2 separate regions of the Homo sapiens genome follow, and region 1 is linked to region 2. Evidence: promoter capture Hi-C in human tissues and cell types (Jung and others, 2019). All regions are on one chromosome and are shown on one strand. The core of a region is centred on a gene start or on the middle of the fragment in contact, and the rest is flanking DNA. Distances in the headings are between cores, read along the strand shown.

Region 1 (4,687 bases), core at 1,777-4,276, 96 kb after region 2:
GGCTTCTGGATGTTCACCCATGTGGGAGAGACGGGTGTCGGGGAAGGGACCACAGCTTCCTTTCAGAAGACCCGGGAAGGGCAGTGCCGTGTGCCAGCCTCCCAGTTGGCACCTTCCTTTCACCTTAGTCGTCTTCGAGGCGATGTTTCCTCGGGACAAGTCATTTTCATGAATCTGCTGTAAAACGTCTCCCAAACTCCAAGTGTTTCCCAAACTGAGTGAAAATCGCTGCAGAATGTGGTTTCCAGCAGAGCTTTTCCCCTCTCCTTCCTTCACCTCTGCCTGGGTTACAGGGTGCGGGTTCCAGGAGTCTGCCTAGAAGGCAAAAAACAGGCTTTGCTTAGAATCCCCTAAATTGCTCATAAAACACAGTGTTTGACGTTTATGTGTAGACATGATCCTTATGTGGGTTAAGCTGAGGCCCCTGCCCCAGTGACACAGAGGCCTCAAACGGCACAGTGCACCTTCTGTCCGAAGCAGCCGGCGAGGCGGCCCGCGAACCTCTGACGTGCTCCATTGCAATGAGGATGAACGAGCCTCAGGCGGAGGGTCAGCCTGGAACCCCTGCCCCGTGAACACCAGCCAGCTTCATGCTGAGGACCCCTCAGTCCAACCCAGAGGCCCATGCTGAGGTCCCGGCATGGGGGACTGTGGGGTGCAGCCGCCGCTTGGAGCGGAGGTGAATGGGACCCCACACGTTTCCTCCTCCTTCTCTGGATGCCTGTAATCATCACAGTACTCAAAAAAGGAAGAAGAAAAAGGTCCTTGAAACTTGCTGGAGTTGCAGTTCCGTTTTTTTGTTTGTTTGGTTGGTTGGTTGGTTTTTTTTTTTTTTGGAGACAGAGTCTTGCTCTTGTCGCCCAGGCTGGAGTGCAGTGGCGTGATCTCGGCTCACTGTAACCTCCACCTCCTGGGTTCAAGGGATTTTCCTGCCTCAGCCTCCCAAATAGCTGGGACTACAGGAGCTCGCCACCATGTCTGGCTATTTTTTTTCTATATTTGGTAGAGGCGGGGTTTCACCGTGTTGGCCAGGCTGGTCTCGAACTCCTGACCTCAGGCGATCCGCCTGCCTTGGCCTCCCAAAGTGCTGGGATTACAGGCTTGAGCCACTGCGCCCGGCCCCATTTTCTTTACATTTGTGACTTACAGTCATCAGCTGAAGGAAAGACAGTGGCTTGGCTAGGGCCTGCCCACTGCTGGCCGAGGCTGGCCGGGTCACCCAGGTGCCTGCCTCTCCTGCTCTGGAGCCGGGCACTGCCTGAGGGCCTGCAGCACCAGTCAGGGCCCCGGGGGATCCCTCCAGGGTCTCAGTTCTGACTAGCGAGTACCTCGATTCATGAGTATGTTTTTTAATGTAAGGTTTTAACGTAAGGTTTAAAAAGGCAGCCGCCCCGTTTCCTCCCCACTGGTCTCGCCTTCAGCAGTGATTTGTGGTGACTGTGACGTTCTCTTCGGTGGGCTGCCTGTGGATCGCCAAGTATGTGCTCCTGCTGCTTCTACCTGATGTCTCCCCATCTTGGGCTTTGAGGGGGGCTCATCCGGGGCATTCATATTTTCTGCCCGAGTTCGCTCCTGACCCAGGGCAGGTGGAAGCCAGCAGGTGAGGACCAGGGTGTCAGCCAGAAACTCGGAAGTGGCACAGAGGCAGCATCCGATAGCCCCTTTGTCAGAGGCGACCAGGGCCTTGAGTGAGCTGGGATGGACTTCTCTTATCCTGACATCCTGGAAGGGGGTGCAGCCTGCCTGTCTGTGTCCCAGTTGAGTTGGCAACATTTTTTGTCTTTCCTCATGATGCACGAAGTAGTGGTATCTCTGAGAGCCAATGGCAGCCTAGCTGCCGTGGAGAATGCTGGGGGGTGGGTGAGAGTTGGGGCACAGAGGACTCATGGGGCAGAGGCTGTGGTCCAGTCCTTGTGGGGGTGACTCCAGGGATGGCAGGTGGGTGGTGTGGCCAAGGAGGAGGGAGGTCAAGGCACTGGTGTTGGGGCAGGGAGAAGGGACCGCAGTGCCCATGTGTTTGAGGGAGGGGAGATGATGGTGTGGGAGTGTAGAGAGGGCGGGGGCCCAGCCCACAGCATCCATGCCCTGGGGATTGGGTGCCACCGGTCAAGGGCTCCACGGGGCTGGCTCTGGGGGAGGGAGAGCGGGCGCCATGTTGTGTGTGTGGTGCGTGTGGCGCGTGGGTGAGGGTATGGCCGGCTGCGTAAGTTTGTGGAAGCGTTCGGAATGCTCAGGAGATAAAAACAGCAGAGGGCTGCACCCCCCCACCCTCCCACCCCAGCTTTTCTCCAGGAGGACGCTCCGTCGTGGCCTGGGAGGACGTGGAAGGAGGGACCCCGGATGCAGGGCAGGTTCGTCTTGTGTGTTGAGAACGTGCTCTCCAGGGATCTGTGTTAATACAGGTAGCCCAAGCACAGTGTCCAATGAGGGAAGGAACATTTGAAACAGAAGAGATGACTTATTTTGTTGGACAAAAAAGGAATATGGTGGACATTAATTCTTAGAAGAGGTTTTATTTGAAACAAGTCACAAAAATAATCAAACAGCAGGTTGACTTTGGAGTTCAGCTCACAAAAGTTAAGCTTACAGAGCAAATAAAATAAGCTGAAGAAAAAGATAAGATGACTGGGCGCAGTGGCTCACGCCTGTAATCCCAGCACTTTGGGAGGCCGAGGCGGGTAGATCACGAGGTCAGGAGTTTGAGACCATCCTGGCTAACACGGTGAAATCCAGTCTCTACTAAAAATACAAAAATTAGCCGAGTGTGGTGGTGGACACCTGTAGTCCCAGCTGCTCGGGAGGCTGAGGCAGGAGAATCGCTTGAACCCGGGAGGTGGAGGTGGCAGTGGGCCGAGATCGTGCCACTGCACTCCAGCCTGGTGACAGAGCGAGACTCCGTCTCAAAAAAAAAAGAAAAAGAAAAAGAAAAAGCTAAGATGCAGCAGGTGGAGCCGCCTGCCGTTGGGTTTCAGCTTTTCTTATGGAAAGAATGTTACGGCCTGGGTGCCTCCATTCTCTGATTTCTTTTTCTTTCTTGACTTTTTAAAATTGAAACAAAACTCCCTAAAACATGAAATCTGAAGCGTTCAACTCCACGAGTTTTTACAAAGCAAACTGCACCGCGTCACATAGCTGATCCGTGTGTAGCTTGTCCTCTGGACGCGGGGCCACCCCCACACCCCGAGGTGACCCCAGGCGTAACCTACCCGTCCCCGGCCTTGGTGCCTGCAGATAGTTTTGCTTGTTTCGAGCTTTTGTCTTGGGATCCGGGGCCATCCACCCTGGGTGTGGCCGCTCAGTCGGGCCCCTGTGTGGGGCTTTCCCGTGGTGTGGGGTGCGGTTCTGCCGTGTCCGTCCCCACTGCGGGGCTGCTCTGCTGGCTGAATTCTCCACGTCTTATGTATCCACCCTCATCTTGCGAGGCACCGGGGTCCCGGCTTTTGGCCACAGACATCCGAGCGCCTTCTGTTGCCCGTGGCGCATCTTTCATGTGGGCACACCCAGGAGTGGAGTTTCCGGGAAACAGACGTTTCCCTCGCGTGGCCGCACCAGGTCGCACTCTGCACTGTGTTTCTGCCTCCAGTTATGTGGGGTTTTCTGCACCCACAGCCACTCTGGCGCCAGCTGGGTGTCCTGTGTTTCCATTCAGCTCTGACATCAATTACCTGACGTTAGCGCAGACCCTGCAGATGAAGGGCTCATTCCCACAAGCCTGCCCCTACTTGAGAGCCAGCTGCAAGTGCCAGGTGACAACCTGGATTCTGACCAACTGGCTGTGAATCGGGGGTGTCCGTGACCCCTTCCTGAGGCTCGGGTGGGCTAGAATAGCTCCCGGAACTCAGGAAAACACTTTGCTTAGTGTACCCGTTTATTAGAAAGGACAGCCACACGGAGGAGCTGCACGGGAGGCTGAGGTATGGGGGGTGCAGAGCTTCCGTGCCCTCTCCAGGCACGCCACCCTCCAGCACCTTGGTATATTCACCAACTCGGACACTCTCCAGACCATGTCATTGAGGGCTTTTTGTGGAGGCTTCGTGACAGGCACGGTTGATTCAACAGCCAGCCACTGCTGATTACCTCAGTCTCTCCTGTCTCCTCTCTGGACCGTGGGCTGTGGGACGGAAAGTTCCAACCCGCTAGGCATTCCTTGGTCCTGCTGAAGACCAGCCGCATCCTGGAGCTGTCCCGGCTCCCGGCTCCCCGTCATCTCATTAGCATGCAAAAAGACACTCTTACCGCACTCCAGGATTCCTAGGGTCAGAGGGGCTGCGCGCTGGGAAACTGAGACAAAGGCTGAATCTGTGTTGATGGCACAGTCACTCTGGGTCGTGTGGGAATTCCCGATGCACCTCCTTCCAGCACATGGACTGTCAGAGCCCTGCGTTGTCGCCAGCACAGCAGATCTGAAAGGCACTAGGCTGTGGCCTCGCGACGGCTGAGGTGAGCTGCTTCTCCGAGGCTCCCGGGTTATTGGGGACCCTCCTTTTAAAGGTGCCTGTTCCAGTCTTTTGCCCCATTTCAAAATTGGGCTGTCAAAGAACAATGTCATTGGGGGGTCCGTCTTTTTTGTTGGTTCCTGGGGGCTGTGTGTGTTTTAGAGACAAGTGCTTTGATTTTTTGTGTTGCAAACAGCTTCTGTCACTCCGCGGCTCGCCTTCCACTCCATGGATGGTGTCTTCTGATGAAC
Region 2 (4,931 bases), core at 2,322-4,821:
TGGTGCCAAGACAAGGAGGTGGGTTTTGTTCAGGAGCCTGGGTAAGGAGCACACACCCCATCTCAAACGGGGAGACTTCCATTGATGGAGATCGGCCTTGTTACTGATTGTGAAAACCTCACCAGAGCCTCGTTCGGAGGGTGGGTTCTCCCACAGGACAGGAGATGGGGCATAACCTCCAGTATTCCCCAGAGAGCGGGCAGCCCAGGTCTCTGCAAAGTGGGTAGTCACTGTCAAACAAAACAACCTGAGACGCTTTCTAACAGAGTTCAGCACTTCTGACACTAAGAAAACCAATCACGACTCTCACCCTGTCATTTTGTAAAAGAAGAAAACAAAACTGGGAAATAACTTCGCTGAGGTCACACGGCCAGTTTGGAGCAGAGCTGGGACTGGCACCCAGACCTCTGACTCCTGGAGCTCTTCCCAGATTCTTGAAAGGGGCCAAGAAGTGAGCTGCTTCCATCTCATGGGCACAGAAACTCCCTGTCCTGGGGCTCACATCCACCAGGTGCCAGCCACACAGGCCCCAGTCACACAGGCCCCGGCTCCTGACCCCTGGGCCAGGCTGCTCCCCGGCTGGCCTTCCTGGTGCTGGCGTGGTCGGAGCTTCCCTGGGTGGAGGATGAGGCTAAGGAAGCCGACTGGTTATGCACATCACAATGGGATGGAAGTTCGGAAATGGCAACAAACTAATTCTCAAAAACCTTGAAAAAGAAATTATGAAAATTCCCGTTCTTCAGATCCAAACTGAAACATCAGTTAGGAGGCCGGGTGTGGTGGCTCACGCCTGTAATCCCAGCACTTTGGGAGGCCGATGTGGGCCGATCACTTGAGGTCAGGAGTTCGAGACCAGCCTGGCCAACATGGTGAAACCCTGTCTCTACTAAAAATACAAAAATTAGCTGGGCATGGTCGCAGGCGCCTGTAATCCCAGCCACTTGGGAGGCTGAGGCAGGAGAATTGCTTGAACCCAGGAGGTGGAGGTTGCAATGAGCTGAGATAGTGCCACTGCCCTCCGGCCTAGGCAACAAGAGCGAAACTCCATCTCAAAAACAAAAAAGAAAGAAAGAAAGAAAAAGAAAGAAAGAAAGAAAGACCAGTTAGGAACAATAAAGAATGGAAATGAAGTGTGCAGACTTCAAACCTTGCAGAAACCTGTGAATGATGGATGGGACATGCATTTGCCTCTAGGACTGAAGGAAGAGGAGACAATTTGATGCCACCAAACCACCAGATATTTGGCTAAGATGCCCGCCCAGCTTCAACTGACATACACACAACAGCACGACTTTCCAGCAAAAGTTCAACATTGGCTGGGCACGGAGGCTCATGCCTGCAATCTCAGCACTTTGGGAGGCCACGGGGGAGGATCCCTTGAGGCCAGGAGTTTGAGACCAGCCTGGGAAACATAGTGAGACCCCATCTCTACAAAAAATAGAAAATTATCTGGGTGCAGTGACATGCCTCTGTGGTCCCAGCTCCTCCAGAAGCTGAGGTGCAAGGATCCCTTGAACCCGGGAGGTGGAGGCTACAGTGAGCTGAGATCGTGCCACTGCACTCCAGCCTGGGCCACAGAGCAAGACCTTGTCTCTTAAAAGAAAAAGAAGAAAATTGAATGTTAATTTTATGCCCCAGATAATAGAGGAGCGTGAAGAAAATGGCAATAGGGTGTGGCTTATCCTGAATGAATCGGATCCAGTGAGTCAAGATCAACGCTGCTTCTCAGAGGTGATCAGCACCAAGATATCCTCAGATAAGCTCTTCGCAGATATTGAAGGGATTGCGACCATGAACCACTCTCACTGCTTAGTTCCAAAGCTCAGGAAGGAAAGACAGGGAGGGCGGGGCACTGTCCGGAGGCAGTGATGGCGTGCTGGCCGCAGTGGGTGCATGGACTTTGCAGATGTGGAGTCTGCACCTCCTCCTACATTTGCTGAGCACCTACTTCATCCAATACACCACCAAGGAGAAGACGGACAAGACCCCTGTTCTGGAGGGGGAAGAATAAAAATAATGCCTCTCACCGGGGGCCGGGCCAAGCTCTGGGCACCTCTTCATGAATTAACTCCTAAATTAATCCATGGAAGGGACACGTGGGAAGGGGCACGTGTGCAGAGCACAGGCTCGGACAGGAACCCCGGGAACACAGGGAGGTCAGTGCTTCTGTACCCAAAGGACCCCTCTCGGCAGGGGCCAGTGAGCAGCCGGGAAGGGGGCCTTGGAGTTGAGACCTGTTGGGCTTGTTAGAGCCCCGTTCCTTGATTTAAGAAAGCAGGCTAGGGCTGGGTGCAGTGGCTCACGCCTGTAATCCCAGCACTTTGGGAGGCCGAGGCGGGCGGATCACGGGGTCAGGAGTTCGAGACCAGCCTGGCCAACATGGTGAAATTCCGTCTGTACTAAAGATACAAAAAAATAACCGAGCGTGGTGGCAGGTGCCTGTAATCCCACCTACTCGGGAAGCTGTGGCAGGAGACTTGCTTGAACCTGGGAGGCAGAAGTTGCAGTGAGCCGAGATTGTGCTCCAGCCTGGGTAACAGAGCCAGATTCCATCTCGAAAAATAACATAACATAACATAACATAACATAACATAACATAACATAACATAACATAACATAAATAAAGCAAGCAAACTGGAACCAGCCTCATTCTTCCACTTCCCACAGTAGGGATTGGGCTGGAAATTCCGAAGCAAATCCCTCTCTGCACTTTCCTCCACCTGCCCCTGTGCGGCCAGGGCCCTTCATCCAGAAGCACGCAGCCTCGGGGACAGCTTCGCCATTTTTAAGTGTTTTCACGAGGGGTTGACACTGTGCTGTCAGCGACATCGCGAGCCCAGAAGTGAATAACTGACACAACAATGATTAAAGTTTGTGAGCAGCTTCAGGAAATGGCAGCGCAACTTTATGTTCAAAAGATCCAAGGCAGGAGAGTGTGAGGCCTTCCCTTTCCCAGATCCTAGGGGTGTGGAGGGCGGGCCTGGGGCCATGAGAGGTGTGGAGAGTCAGAACTGCGGCCTGCGGCGCAGCCCCCACCTGCTTTTCCTCTCCCCGCCCCCGTCGAGGGTCCCCAGGGATCAGGACTTGCTCCCAAAGTCGCCTGGCCCCAGCTCCCGCGAAGGCAGGAGGGTTTTGGAAGCAGCCGCTGGTGGGGGTCTCTCTCCTGACAGCTGCAGGGACTGGCCCCCTCCCCACCCACCGCCGGCGCAGCCAGAAGCAGCCACGCAGACGTGCGACCCCCCACAAACCGCCTCGGGACGAGGTTCTGCCGCGCCCGTGGGCCACAGTGTCCACGCGGGGCTTGTGCCGGTGTCGCCTCCCATGAAGACACCCGGAGGGTCCCGTCTGCGGCGCGTGAGGGCAGCGGTCCCGGAGAGCCAGACCCCGGCCAGGGAGAGCTGCCCGCGAGGGAGGGGGCGCGGCTGGCGGAGGGGGGCGGGATGGGGCGGGGGGCGGGGGGAGGAGAGGGGAGCGGCGGGCGGGGCCGGGCTGCAGGGAGCGGCGGGCTGGGGCGGGCTCGGGGCGGGCTCCGCGCTCCGTCCGCCCCCTCGCGCCCGCGCCGCGCTCGCTCAGCTCCCGCCCGCCTGTGCCGCCTGTGCGGCCGCCGGGAGCCAAGTTTGCGCGGACCCCGTCCCGAGCCCGCCGCGGCCATGGACGCGCCCGCCCGGCTGCTGGCCCCGCTCCTGCTCCTCTGCGCGCAGCAGCTCCGCGGCACCAGGTGAGCGGGCGGGGTCCGCGCGGCGCGGGGTCGGGGGCGGTGGGGGGCCCGCGTCGGCCCGAGATAGCGGCTGGGAGAGCGGCCGGCGCGAGCCCCGGGCCCCGGACCCCAAGTCTGAGAGCCCCGCGTCCTCCCTCCCCGGGGTCTTGCCCCGCGGGCCCCTCGTTGGACTCGCCCGGACGCTGCCCTTGGGCTCGGGACGCGGCGACCCCCGCGCTGGCCGCCCCCGCCCGGTGCTGTCCGCCGTCCTGGTGCTGAACCTGGGCTGGGCGAGGGCGTCGGAGCCTCCCGGTTCCCCTGCTCCGCGGCGCGCGTGGAGGGTCCCCGGGTCCGCGGCACTCGCGGGTCCCTGCCCGGCGGGTGCCTTGAGGAGAGGAAAGACCTGAGAACTCGGTGCGGGGAGGCTGCTCCCTTTGCGGGGGAGCCGTTCCCCGTTCCCCCAGTGAGCTTCCCCAGCCGGAGGGTCTGGGACGGACGGAGGAGGCTGTCTCGCTGTGGAGGGTGGGCCCGGCCTCCGGGGTCTCCTTTCAGAGTCCGTTTCAAATGGCGTGGGCAGAACTCCTGAGTGTGTGCAGGTGGACGGCGGCCAGGTGCCCCTGGCCACAGAAAAGAGATGGTGGATTTCTTAACTATTTTGGGAGGGACTCCCCAGAGAAGGAAGAGGCTGAGAAGGAGGCCCCCCGGGGCTGGAGCCCCCTCTGGCCTACAGTGCCCCCCCATCTCCTCTCTGGGGATCTGAAATGGGCTCCTCAGCCACCCAGGCAACTTGGCCCCACCACGGGGCCTGGCTGGCCGCCTTCCCTAGGAGTCACGAGAGGACATTTAGGGGCGTCTTTGAAAATCACCTCAGTGCAAAGACTGCAGAAGAAACAGCAAAGAGCCATCCCCCAGCATTCAGGATCTCAGAGACCGTGAAGATGTAGATATAGAGGTGGCTGACCGTAGTAGAGATGGCAGCACCCAACACGGGGCGGTGTGTCAGAGTTTTCCCATTGGAGGTGCGGGGGACAGAGCCCAGAAGGCCTGGGTCCAGCTGCAGCCGTGTGCCCATCAGGAGACCGCGGGGTCGGCACTGCCCCTGGCTCTAAGCAGCCCGTGTCCTGGGAAGAGCTTTGTTCTTCCATCAATCCCAGTGGGCCTTTCTCCCTTTGTCCTTCCCCTCCTTCAAGGTGAGAGGAAGGACGAAGCTCGGGGCACAGTTGTGGATGCTGTG

What was found. The method cuts DNA at HindIII sites, captures the fragments that hold promoters and counts their contacts. A contact is called where the count stands out against the background at its distance.
Region 1: a fragment that was not itself captured here is called in contact with the fragment with the promoter of GABRD in region 2 in 4 of the 25 tissues and cell types used here (IMR-90 fibroblasts, dorsolateral prefrontal cortex, mesendoderm cells and 1 more).

What each region holds. Positions count from the first base shown.
Region 1 is chr1:2,111,871-2,116,557 of GRCh38, forward strand. The region is part of intron 4 of PRKCZ (protein kinase C zeta); the gene reads left to right. Among named protein-coding and RNA genes, the nearest start is that of PRKCZ, 64 kb to the left of the region's middle. RefSeq lists an enhancer at 628-677. The HindIII fragment of the contact is 4,407 bases long and covers 824-4,687 here.
Region 2 is chr1:2,015,774-2,020,704 of GRCh38, forward strand. It overlaps GABRD (gamma-aminobutyric acid type A receptor subunit delta), which reads left to right and starts at 3,572. Exons shown (of 9, transcript NM_000815.5): 1 at 3,572-3,718. The coding sequence starts at 3,651. It overlaps LOC105378589 (a long non-coding RNA gene), which reads right to left and starts at 2,315. Exons shown (of 2, transcript XR_001737844.3): 1 at 1-2,315. RefSeq lists enhancers at 2,588-3,166, 3,167-3,744. The HindIII fragment of the contact is 31,331 bases long and covers 1-4,931 here.